4 separate regions of the Homo sapiens genome follow, and all the other regions are linked to region 4. Evidence: promoter capture Hi-C in 16 types of primary human blood cells and fetal thymus (Javierre and others, 2016). All regions are on one chromosome and are shown on one strand. The core of a region is centred on a gene start or on the middle of the fragment in contact, and the rest is flanking DNA. Distances in the headings are between cores, read along the strand shown. Region 1 has its middle 3.5 kb from the start of SPIN2B. Region 2 has its middle 3.2 kb from the start of FAAH2. Region 3 overlaps RRAGB (Ras related GTP binding B). Region 4 holds the start of UBQLN2 (ubiquilin 2).

The links. The method cuts DNA at HindIII sites, captures the fragments that hold promoters and counts their contacts. A CHiCAGO score of 5 or more calls a contact.
Region 1: a contact is called between a fragment that was not itself captured here and the fragment with the promoter of UBQLN2 in region 4, in 1 of 17 cell types (non-activated CD4 T cells). The highest score is 5.3, in non-activated CD4 T cells.
Region 2: a fragment that was not itself captured here is called in contact with the fragment with the promoter of UBQLN2 in region 4 in 1 of 17 cell types (non-activated CD4 T cells); the score reaches 6.8 in non-activated CD4 T cells.
Region 3: a contact is called between a fragment that was not itself captured here and the fragment with the promoter of UBQLN2 in region 4, in 1 of 17 cell types (naive B cells). The highest score is 5.1, in naive B cells.

Annotation. Positions count from the first base shown.
Region 1 is chrX:57,116,607-57,119,474 of GRCh38, forward strand. No RefSeq gene overlaps it. Among named protein-coding and RNA genes, the nearest start is that of SPIN2B, 3.5 kb to the right of the region's middle. RefSeq lists an enhancer at 688-1,887. The HindIII fragment of the contact is 3,477 bases long and covers 1-2,868 here.
Region 2 is chrX:57,282,174-57,284,873 of GRCh38, forward strand. It overlaps a transcript of FAAH2 not described here. Among named protein-coding and RNA genes, the nearest start is that of FAAH2, 3.2 kb to the right of the region's middle. The HindIII fragment of the contact is 2,573 bases long and covers 23-2,595 here.
Region 3 is chrX:55,751,782-55,754,499 of GRCh38, forward strand. It overlaps RRAGB (Ras related GTP binding B), which reads left to right. Exons shown (of 10, transcript NM_006064.5): 7 at 1,611-1,733. Among named protein-coding and RNA genes, the nearest start is that of RRAGB, 35 kb to the left of the region's middle. The HindIII fragment of the contact is 4,544 bases long and covers 1-2,718 here.
Region 4 is chrX:56,561,999-56,564,876 of GRCh38, forward strand. It overlaps UBQLN2 (ubiquilin 2), which reads left to right and starts at 1,629. Exons shown (of 1, transcript NM_013444.4): 1 at 1,629-2,878. The coding sequence starts at 1,876. RefSeq lists enhancers at 1,332-1,959, 2,356-2,555, 2,566-2,625. The HindIII fragment of the contact is 11,191 bases long and covers 1-2,878 here.

The sequences.
Region 1 (2,868 bases), core at 169-2,668, 550 kb after region 4:
AATTTATCAATGAGTCTCTGGGTTGGTTTCTCATTCTCTAGAGATCACTTCATCAGTATTCTATACCCAATCCAGGCACTGAGTACAGAGACCAACTTGTCATGTATGGTTTTCACTGGGAATTTGTTTCTCTTAAGAAAATCTTCAAAAGAAGACCAGAAAATGTGGTGTTGTACTGGACTCATATTTATCTTCCACTGCACAGCATTATCAAATAGGAAAACATGCAGGGTATACCTGAAAACAGCCAGACCCAACTAATTTTCACCATGTCTACTACCATCAGGGTACTGAAACCCACCATTATCTGTAATCTACATAATTGGAATAGCCTACTAATTATTCTCCCTTTATTCATCATATACTAATAAAAACTATTCTGCAAGTTGTCAGAGTGATCCTGTAAAACTAAGACAAATCTTGTATGCCCTCCACTATAAATACATGGATGGCTCTGCATCACACTCAATGTAAAAGCCAAATTGCATTTTGAAACCTACAGGGCTATAAGCTGTCTGCCTCTCTCCCTCATCCCCATTACATCTCTGAAACCACCTCCTGCTTTTCTCTGCCTTGTTCACTCAGCTCCAGACATGATAACATCCTCCTTGCTCCTCAAACATGCCAGGCCTAAACCTGTCTTGGGGCCTCAGCACGTGCTGTCCCTCCATCTGGAATGCTCCTTCCCCAGACAGCTACAGGGTCAGTTCTCCCATTGCCTTCAGGTGAGACTCAAAAGCCAAGTTCTCAGTGAGGCCTTCCCTGGATACCTTGTCTATCTAGTTTCAGCTTCCCTCCTGAAATTTTCTATCCCAATTCCTTGCTTTATGTTTTTCTATTTAACACTAGACACTATGAAAATACATTATAATTGCTTACTTATTTTGGCTACTGTCTGTCCCCCACACTAAAATGAAACCTCCATGAGGATAAGAATTTTAGTTTGCTTTTTTGTTCATTATTACATTATCAGTATCTGTGCCTAGAAGAGTGCCTGGCAGAGAGCCCACCTGAAGTAAGTATTTGTGGGGTAAAGATAAAACAAGTAAATTAAAAAGCAAATGGGATCAAAGCAAGTCAAAGGGGCAGTTTTTCCAGGGTGTGGCCCCAGTTACAAGTGCAAACGCTTCCAGGGAACGACTGTGCATTTTATTAGAGTAAAGCAGGCCAGCTGGGGGTGTGGCCAACTGGAGAGGGTATTCGGAGTCTAAACTGGACTGAGACCTACCTAAGGCCCAGCTGCATGTATCCTTTTTGGAATGAGGGCCCTGATCCTCACATTTTTGTTGTTGTTGTCATTCTGTTTCAATTTCAGGAGATGCCAGAGACATAAATTTTCATCGTGTGAAATCTCTCAAATGTCTAAAGTACCTAATTAAAAATAGAAAACAATAAAAACACAAAGATGAAAATAACCTGGCAGCTGTCTGAGACTGGTTCCTGGGCACCTTGCTGGATTTTGTTGGACGAAATTGTGTGATGTACACAAGAAAATTAATCCTTGCTACGGTGAGGTAGGCTTGCCTTGTGTAATTCTTGAGGCAGTCAGCCTCAGGCCATGTTGGGTGGAGAGAATAAACTCTATTTACCACCTTCTTTCAACTCCTGGAAGCTCCTTGCATCTCCCACTATGCATGGAGTTAGGGTAACCTGGGCAGCAGGGAGTCACCAGCACTCTTTCTTGGGGTCAGAGGTATAATTTAGTGAACGGTGTGGTTGCAGAAAGCAGTGAGAGGGTTTTCAGATGGGCTACAGGAGAAAGACTTGGGAAAGGCAAGGAGGGGAGGAAGAGAAAGACACAGATCTATCTTTGCATCAGACACCATAGTTCTGAGGGACTTTTTGTGGGTTGCTGCTCCCTCTCCCCACCAGCCTTGACCCTTTTTTGTGACATTATACAGCTGAATGAGTTAGTTATACCAAGTCACAACTCCCAGCCCAACTGCCCCATGGCATCTGCCTCACCTGGAAACAAAGAGCTGACCAGAATTCCATCACAGGTCTCTGTGAGCTGGGGTAGGCAAGACTGGCCAACAGGTGCCTGTGAGGGGTCTGCAGACACCAGCTTTGTGGGGAAGGTCTAACCAGAATGTGGATTCTTGGGACAGCAGGCCTCTTTTAGTGGATTATTTGTCGGAACCACCTGTGGTTTCAGGCAGCTGCTGAAAGAAGTGTGGACAGTCAGGAACTCCCCATAACCTGGAGAGAAACACTAGGCTCAATCTTCTGATGCCCCTCGTCTCTAGATAGAAAACAAACATTCCAGCAGAAGGAACCGGTGTGATGAGACTGCTGTACCTGAGTTCAGTAAGGTTCCATTTTTTTCTGGGTAAAGTACTTTCCAAATGCAAGATGGCACATCTCTTAAGTTCTGACCCACTAACCCATCCTCTACCAATATTGTTTATCTAGCGCAGGACAAATGTGAGGAGGCAGCCCGCAGCCCAGCACATGTGGGGAACCGTGTTAGTGTGTTCAGGCTGAGGGTTGGGGTTCTGCTGGGTAGGAGCGTCCTGAACTCCCTGAAACAGGAAAAGCCTTACGGGTATAAACTTTCCTCCTGATTAACCTTACTGAGTCATCCTTGTCAGAATGCCCTTCTAGGGAACCTCCAATGTATCTGGCATCTTTGACAGATGCCACTTCCTTTGTGCATAGAGCCAGGAAGAGCAATGTGGACACTACCAGAAGTCCAACATTTTCCTGGGCCTTCCGATCTCTCATGGGCCCCACACCCCACAACTCTTTTCCTGTATTCCCAATCCCTCTGTCAGTCTTTCTTCTTTGAACTCCTTCTTCCTCAGTGGCCCTCTTCTTCTAACCTCTCTAACACTCTAACCCACATAGCCTCTTCCATTGAGTATCCTT
Region 2 (2,700 bases), core at 59-2,558, 720 kb after region 4:
ATATCGCCTATAGCAGTGTATAAGCTTTCCCTTTTCTGTACAACCTCACCAGCATGTGTTAGTTTTTTGACATTTTAATAATAGCCATTCTGACTATGTGAGATGGTATCTCTTCGTGGTTTTGATTTACATTTCTCTGACGATTAGTGATGATGAGCATTTTTTTAATGTTTTTTGGCCACTTGTATGTCTTCTTTTCAGAAGTGTCTGTTTATGTTTCTTGCTCACTTTTTAATGGGGTTATTTGTTTATTGCTTGTTAAGTTTCTTAGAGATTGTGGATATTAGATCTTTGTTTGATGTTTGTGAATATTTCCCCCATTCTGTAGGTTGTCTGTTTACTCCGTTGATGGTTTCATTCTTTCTGTGTGGGTTGATGTTCCTTCAACTGTAGTGTAATATGAGTATAATCAGTTGACTTCTTTTCTGAATGTTTTCAGCAGTCTAAGCATTTTTGCAGGATCTTTATTTGTAGCTTAGTTCTTGTCCTTGGTTTCACTGGGGGATATATTAACAGTATTTTCGGTGTTGAAATTTGGTTGTAATCCACTAGATGGTGCTTAAATGTAATGGTTAATAGGTACGCTCTTGCTTAGCCATGTGGCTCGCCTGTATTTCCTCATGATTGCCATCAAATTTTCTGTTACTGTTCTGAAAGTGTAGGCTCCTCTCCCACAGAAGTGCTGTCTGTAGACCTCTGTTTGGCACTTGCGAGCTGTACAGCACAACCTTGTGGTGAGCTCATCTTTATTTTCCTTCCCCACTTTTGAGGCAGCAGGGGACAAGACCTTGGCAGTGGCTATGGCAGAGGGTCTTTCCCGTGTCTTTTGGTGCTCTACCCTAGAGAAATTCAGAGCGGATATCAACTGGTGCAATCAGTCAAGGGTGGGGCAGCTGCGTTTTTGGCCCAAGCCATGGGAACCTGCCTGGGGATGGGAAGGGGATTGCGGAGGGAACAGACCAGCCTCTTCTCCTTATGGTGGCTGTGGCTTTCTGGAGGTGTGGTTAAAGCACTGTGCGTCTTTGCTTCTTTCCCAGTCTGAGGGCAGCAAGGGCACTACCATTGCAGTGGCAGGGGCAGAAAGGCTTTTGGTTGTCTCTGGGACCTCCATCTCAGAAAAAAACACAGAGTCACTGCTACTGGGGATGTTCAGCCAGGGGGTGAGGCAACTGTGCTGTTGGCCTGAGGTGGGGACCCCGCTTGGGGAAGAGTCGGGGTTCGAGGGATAACAGGGAGGAGAGAGTGGGCTCTTCTTTGTATGGTGACTGTGTCTTGCTAGAAATGTGAGTAAAGCCCTCAGGATCTTCATTTCTTCTCCAGCCTGAGGGCAGCAGGGGAAGAACCACTGCAATGGCAGTGGCAGAGGGGCTGTCAGTTGCCTCTGGGAGCCCCTCCCCCAGGGAAATACAAAGCCACTAGCAGAGGGAATGCTCTGCCAAGGGTGGGACGTCTGTGTAGATCCAGGCTTGGGGCCCTGCTTGGTGAAGAGTGTGGGGTGGGAGCCTACATGGAAGAGAGACTGGGCTCCTCTCTGTATGGTGGCTGCAGCGTGCTGGAGGCTCCAGTGTAGCAACTCGACCTTTTGTTTTATTCCCTGGCCTGAATGCAGCAGAACAGTACCACTGCAGCTGCAATGGCAGAGAAGCTGTGGGTTGTCTCTGGGATTTCCTCCTCAGAAACGCAGAGCTGCTACCGAGTAAAGTGTTTATGTGGAAGCAGAGTGATTGTGCTTGGGGCCCAGGTCAAGAGGCACTGCTCAGTGAAGAGCAGCGGAGGTGGGGACACACGTGAAAACAGTCTGGCCGCTTTTCCTTTAAGGTGACTGCGCTGTGCTGTGGGTTCGCGTCAGTCCCCAACTTCTATACTACCTCCAGAGCCTGATGAGAACATGAGCGTGGAAAAACGTCAGCTTGCCTGCTCCCTCTGGGAGCTCTGTCCCAGGGAAGTGTGGAGCTGCTTCCAGCCTGAGAACTCAGGCAGGGCTGGGGTAGCCTTGTTAGTGTCCCAAGCTAATGGGCCTTATCCTGCGGCGTGCCCGGGAAGAAAGCCTGCAATCTGGGCATGGTGGTGGGTGCTTATAATACCAGCTACTTGGAAGGCTGAGGCAGGAGAATCACTTGAACCCGGGAGGCAAAGGTTGCAATGAGCCAAGATGGTGCCACTGCACTCCAGTGGCGCTCCAGCCTGGGCGACAGAATGAGACACCATATCATAACAAAACAAAACAACAACAACAACAACAACAACAACAAAACCTGGAATATTATTCAGCTTTTAAAAAGCAGGAAATTTAACATTTATTTTAAAGATAAATCTTAATGGTCTTATGATAAGTGTAATAAGTCCATCATAAAAAGTATGAATCCACTTATACGAGTTAGCTAAAGTAGTTGCACTTTTAAAAAGAGAAAATAGAATGGCATTTGTAAAGGGCCAGTCAATGGGGAAAACAGGTAGTCGATTCATGTATAGTATGTATTCATTTTGCAAGATAAAAATGTTCTGGTGATATGTTGCCAACAATGGCAATATACTTAACATGGTCTAACTATTAATATAAAATTAAAATATTTAAGATTGTAAAAAAAAAACAGAAGCTTTACATCCATATGTGATTTAATCTTCATAACACCATATGGCAGCTGTTATTCTACTTTACAGATGAGAAAACACACCTAGGGACATTAAGTGATTTGTTCA
Region 3 (2,718 bases), core at 87-2,586, 810 kb before region 4:
AATAGCTTTGTTATGGATGAAGCTGAAATTACCTTATTGGCACATAGGCTCCTTATTCTGATTCCTCCCTTTCTCCTACTGATCTAGTTATTTGAAGGACTAGGTCCTTTTGGATCCTTCTGTAGTTAGCCCTTCCCTTCAGACTGCTTCTGGTATCCATTGACAAGTCTGACTCTGGGTAGGAAAGCACCCTTCTCTGTCACTGGTAGCTACAGCCTCAGTATCAACAGCATCTGACAAGTATCTACAACCAGAAGCACAGAAACCTGATGTGGCAAGGAGAAAAACCATTGGACTTTTAAATAGCCATTGCTTTTTTTTTTTTTAACTAATTCATTTTCCCCAATATTATGTTGACCCAGCCTCACTCTAATAACAGATCATTTTGAGATACCTGTCTAGGAAATACTGTTCTAGATTAATATGGGCCGAATTTCTCTCAAAGCCTTATTCCCATAGAACAGGTAACCGTGAATAAGGATGGACATGACGCACTGATAAGAACCAACTGCGGTGTGAAGGATGGCAATACATAACACGACCAAAGACAATTGGCTAATCACAACACTGCTGTGAGTGACAATGTCTCTGCTGTGGTTAGCTTTGGTGCCTTCTCCAAGGTAAATTCAGCAGTGACATTAACACCGACCTGGGAACTTGGAACCTGAACCCTCATGCCTAAGTAATAAAACTAATTGGAACAGAGACATGGCACTTCTGTCTCTTACATCAATGTTGCATAGAGCTAACTTAAATTTTTATATTAAGTTTTATTCAACAAGCACTCTTTACATACCTGCTTGATGCTGTTGGATACACAAATGACTAAGACCAGGTTCCTGCCCTCTTGTAGGGGAGAGAAGAACAAAGTACACCTTACCAGACAAATTGGAGTGAGAGTGAAGGAAGTATTATAATGAAAATACAAATAAAAGAGCCTACAAGAATAGAGGGAGAGTGTGGTTAATTTCAACTGCTTACATTAGTCATACTCCTGGATGAAGTCAGTTTTAGGCAAAAACACAGTAGACCATTTTGAATTCAATTGGATCAATAATTTATATGGATAACAACAAACCTTTGGGAATGATAATGCCACTAGTTTCTCTTTTAATGGTATATTATTCTATTGAGGGGAGGGGCCATTTGTCTATGTGGCTCTGCTACTTTCATAAAATTGATTCTTAGGTATATGTTAAATATAGCATAATTAGGTTCTGATCTTTAGAGAAATCTACACTGTTGGACTTAAATATTTGTGACTAGATTAGGAGCTTTTTAACAAAGTAGATCATATTTTTCAACTTTTTTCCTAAGGCAACATGATGGCATTAAATATTTGTTTGCTTTCAATTATCAATGGAAAGAAGTTTCTCCAGCATTTTACAAAAGTGTTTGAACTTAAAAAAAATTCAACTCAAGGGTAAAAATCAGATGCTAGCTTCATTTTCTCATTTCATTTGTGTTATATCATATTTAATGTCAGTATTTGTTTGGGACTGGATTATCATCATATTTTGCTGTCCACATATTATAGTGTACTTACTAATTTCAAAGGTCTGGGACTGACTAGCTGTTAATAATAGTACACTGTGTTTCTGTTCTGTTAGGCTTGGTCCAGCATAGTTTATCAGCTGATTCCCAATGTTCAGCAGCTGGAAATGAACCTAAGGAATTTTGCTGAAATTATCGAAGCTGATGAAGTACTTCTTTTTGAGAGAGCTACTTTTCTGGTAAGAACTTTCTGCTTTGCAGATGTACTTCACACTGTACGTTCTTTGTTTTCAGCAACAGAGAACAGCATGTCACTACTTTCAGGAAGAACCTTTTTCCCTCTTGTCAACTTTAGCATGTACAGACTTATTTATAAAATAGTATTGTCAGCAAGTGACCTGAAAGAAGCCCTTTGGTGTGTAGCTCTTTGGAAGTTAGTGAAACTTAGATTTTTCCAGGTATGTATTATTAGAGAGTTCAGATTGTTGGCTGGGCATGGGGGCTCACGCCTGTAATCCCAGCACTTTGGGAGGCCGAGGCGGGTGGATCACCTGAGGTCGGGAGTTAGAGACCAGCCTGACCAACATGGAGAAACCCCGTCTCTACCAAAAAATACAAAATTAGCCAGGTGTGGTGACGCATGCCTATAATCCCAGCTACTTGGGAGGCTGAGGCAGGAGAATCGCTTGAACTCGGGAGGCGGAGGTTGGGGTGAGCTGAGATCATGCCATTGCACTCCAGCCTGGGCAACAAGAGCGAAACTCCATCTCAAAAAAAAAGAGAGTTCAGATTATTTATGCTAGTAACTGTTCATTTATGTTAAAGGATTCCTATTTCCTGTGGACTTTTATTATGAAATGTGGGATATTTTCCTTTTGAGAAAACTCACATCCTATCCTTTTCTCTAAAAGACTCATTGAAAACTTTTAATGTAGAAGAGATGTTATGGTCATCTCAGTGACATAGGAGTTCACATGAAGAAGTGGAGAGGGAAAGAGGCATGTTGGTATTTTTATTTTTCTTGTAAATTGAACTTAGCAACTATATTAGAGCCTATTGTTTGTATAACCCTGAAAGGGGGATGCAAAAACCAGTATTGTATTTGTAAATACATTTTAAAAATAGCAATAATAGAAACTAAGGTGTCACAACACACTGCATAAGTAATTGCTAATTAGCCTTGGTAAATGTAACTCTAAGAGCAGTTCCCAGTAAATAATTTGT
Region 4 (2,878 bases), core at 379-2,878:
AGAGGTAAAATAATATTAATTCTTCCATTTCTCCATCGATGGATATAACATACCTGTATATATATATTTTTCTTATCTTCAGATTTATTAAAGTATTTGTGACCTAATGACTTTGAAATGCTGTTAAATGTTGAAAGCAGTGGTGCTTTGGTGGATGCTTGGTAGAGGGTGGGGGTTGGGGAAGAATTTTCTGTGTGGTTTAACCTAGAGTTAGAAATATATAGATAAATTTGAAATTATTTCTTCTATTTTTCAAGTTCTCTTTCTCAGCATTGCTACATCTTTATTGCTCTTACTTAATCTGTAATTAAATTAGGTAAATATGTCAATGTTTGCCACTACTATTATGTGCCTGTCAATTTCTACCCATACTCTTCCCCAAAATACCTTTCTGTAGTGCATACTTACAAAAATCATCAGAAAATTCAAAATCTTATGAAAATAGAAAATAAGAATTATTCATAATTTCAGCAAACAGTACTAACAGCCATTAACTTATTTGTGCATAGCCTTCCAGATTTTTTTACACATACGGTTTACATATACAACAAACTGTTCAAAAATTGCTTTTAAAATAAAAATATATTTATTGTATTTTTGATATTGGAACATATATTCTTATATAGTTTGTAACTGTACAGAAATATACAAAGGCATAATTGAAAATACTCTGTGATTTCCCTATAACTACAGTTTATTTCATGTATACCTTTAAAGACACTCTATATTTTCTTGTATGGTAATATGATAATGTGCTCAACTAATCTCATGTAAACAGATAGTTAATATATTTAAATAACATTTTAAAATGCTACAATGTATATACATTTTATACATAAATATTTTTGCATCCTCATCCGATTATTAGGCGAAGTGTCTAGGTTAGGCATTTCTAAATAAAGGTGGAAACATTCAAAATGCTGATATATATTTTCAAATTGCCCTATGGTTGTAACAATTCACACTTCAGCTAGCCTGAGAGGGCATTTTTTAGGGTCCCTGTCAACAAGAAGGTTTACCATTATTTTTTTCCCTGCCAATATGATAAGCCAAAAGTAGAATTTTATTGTTTTAACTTGATTTCTTTTTATTAGTAGTGAAATTAATCATCCTTTTTTAATGTCTATTGGCCATTTGCACTCCTTTTGTAAAATGCACGCTCCTGCTCTGTCTTCTTCCCTTCCCCTACTGGAGGTGTTCCTCTTTTCTTTTTGCTTTGTCAGAGTTCTTTATTATTCATTTTTCGTCTTATACGTGGGATCTGTTCGATTCAGGCTTTCACCCTTTTACTGCCTTACAGATTGCTAATATACATTCTCCATTGGTCTTTTAATGTCGTTTACAGAAGCTGACTCTCTACCGCCTCCTTCTCTCCGTCTCACCCTCTCTGCCTCGCCTGCTCTGTACTGTTCTGTTCTCTTCTCTCTCTCCCTTTGTTTCTCTCTCTCCCTTTTTTCTTTTCAGTGCAGAAGTTTTTAATTTTGACCGAGCCAAATCTATCAATCTAGGCCTGGCGCCGCGTCAGCAGAGGGGGCGGGGAGGCGAGCGCGGAACTGGGGGAGGGGAAGGGGCGGGGATCAGCAGGCGGAGCGGCTGCCAGAGTTGCTGGGAGTGCGCGCGGTCGGATCACAAGGCGGCGGCGGAGGAGGCCCAGAGACCGGAGCGCGGAGACCTCAGCCAGCGGCCTACGCCCAGGCCTTTCTCCACCGGAGGACCAGGGAACCGCAGTCTTCATCACAGAGGTACCGTGCTCCGCGCTCCCCGCCTGACCCGGCCCAGCCCGCTGCGGCGGTGCCTCCTTCCTTCCTCCTTCCCTCGCGCTCTCTCTTTCGCCCGCCCGCGCCTTCCCTGCCCGCCTGCGTCACCGCGGCCGCCATGGCTGAGAATGGCGAGAGCAGCGGCCCCCCGCGCCCCTCCCGCGGCCCTGCTGCGGCCCAAGGCTCGGCTGCTGCCCCGGCTGAGCCTAAAATCATCAAAGTCACGGTGAAGACTCCCAAAGAGAAAGAGGAGTTCGCGGTGCCCGAGAACAGCTCGGTTCAGCAGTTTAAGGAAGCGATTTCGAAACGCTTCAAATCCCAAACCGATCAGCTAGTGCTGATTTTTGCCGGAAAAATCTTAAAAGATCAAGATACCTTGATCCAGCATGGCATCCATGATGGGCTGACTGTTCACCTTGTCATCAAAAGCCAGAACCGACCTCAGGGCCAGTCCACGCAGCCTAGCAATGCCGCGGGAACTAACACTACCTCGGCGTCGACTCCCAGGAGTAACTCCACACCTATTTCCACAAATAGCAACCCGTTTGGGTTGGGGAGCCTGGGAGGACTTGCAGGCCTTAGCAGCCTGGGCTTGAGCTCGACCAACTTCTCTGAGCTCCAGAGCCAGATGCAGCAGCAGCTTATGGCCAGCCCTGAGATGATGATCCAAATAATGGAAAATCCCTTTGTTCAGAGCATGCTTTCGAATCCCGATCTGATGAGGCAGCTCATTATGGCTAATCCACAGATGCAGCAATTGATTCAGAGAAACCCAGAAATCAGTCACCTGCTCAACAACCCAGACATAATGAGGCAGACACTCGAAATTGCCAGGAATCCAGCCATGATGCAAGAGATGATGAGAAATCAAGACCTGGCTCTTAGCAATCTAGAAAGCATCCCAGGTGGCTATAATGCTTTACGGCGCATGTACACTGACATTCAAGAGCCGATGCTGAATGCCGCACAAGAGCAGTTTGGGGGTAATCCATTTGCCTCCGTGGGGAGTAGTTCCTCCTCTGGGGAAGGTACGCAGCCTTCCCGCACAGAAAATCGCGATCCACTACCCAATCCATGGGCACCACCGCCAGCTACCCAGAGTTCTGCAACTACCAGCACGA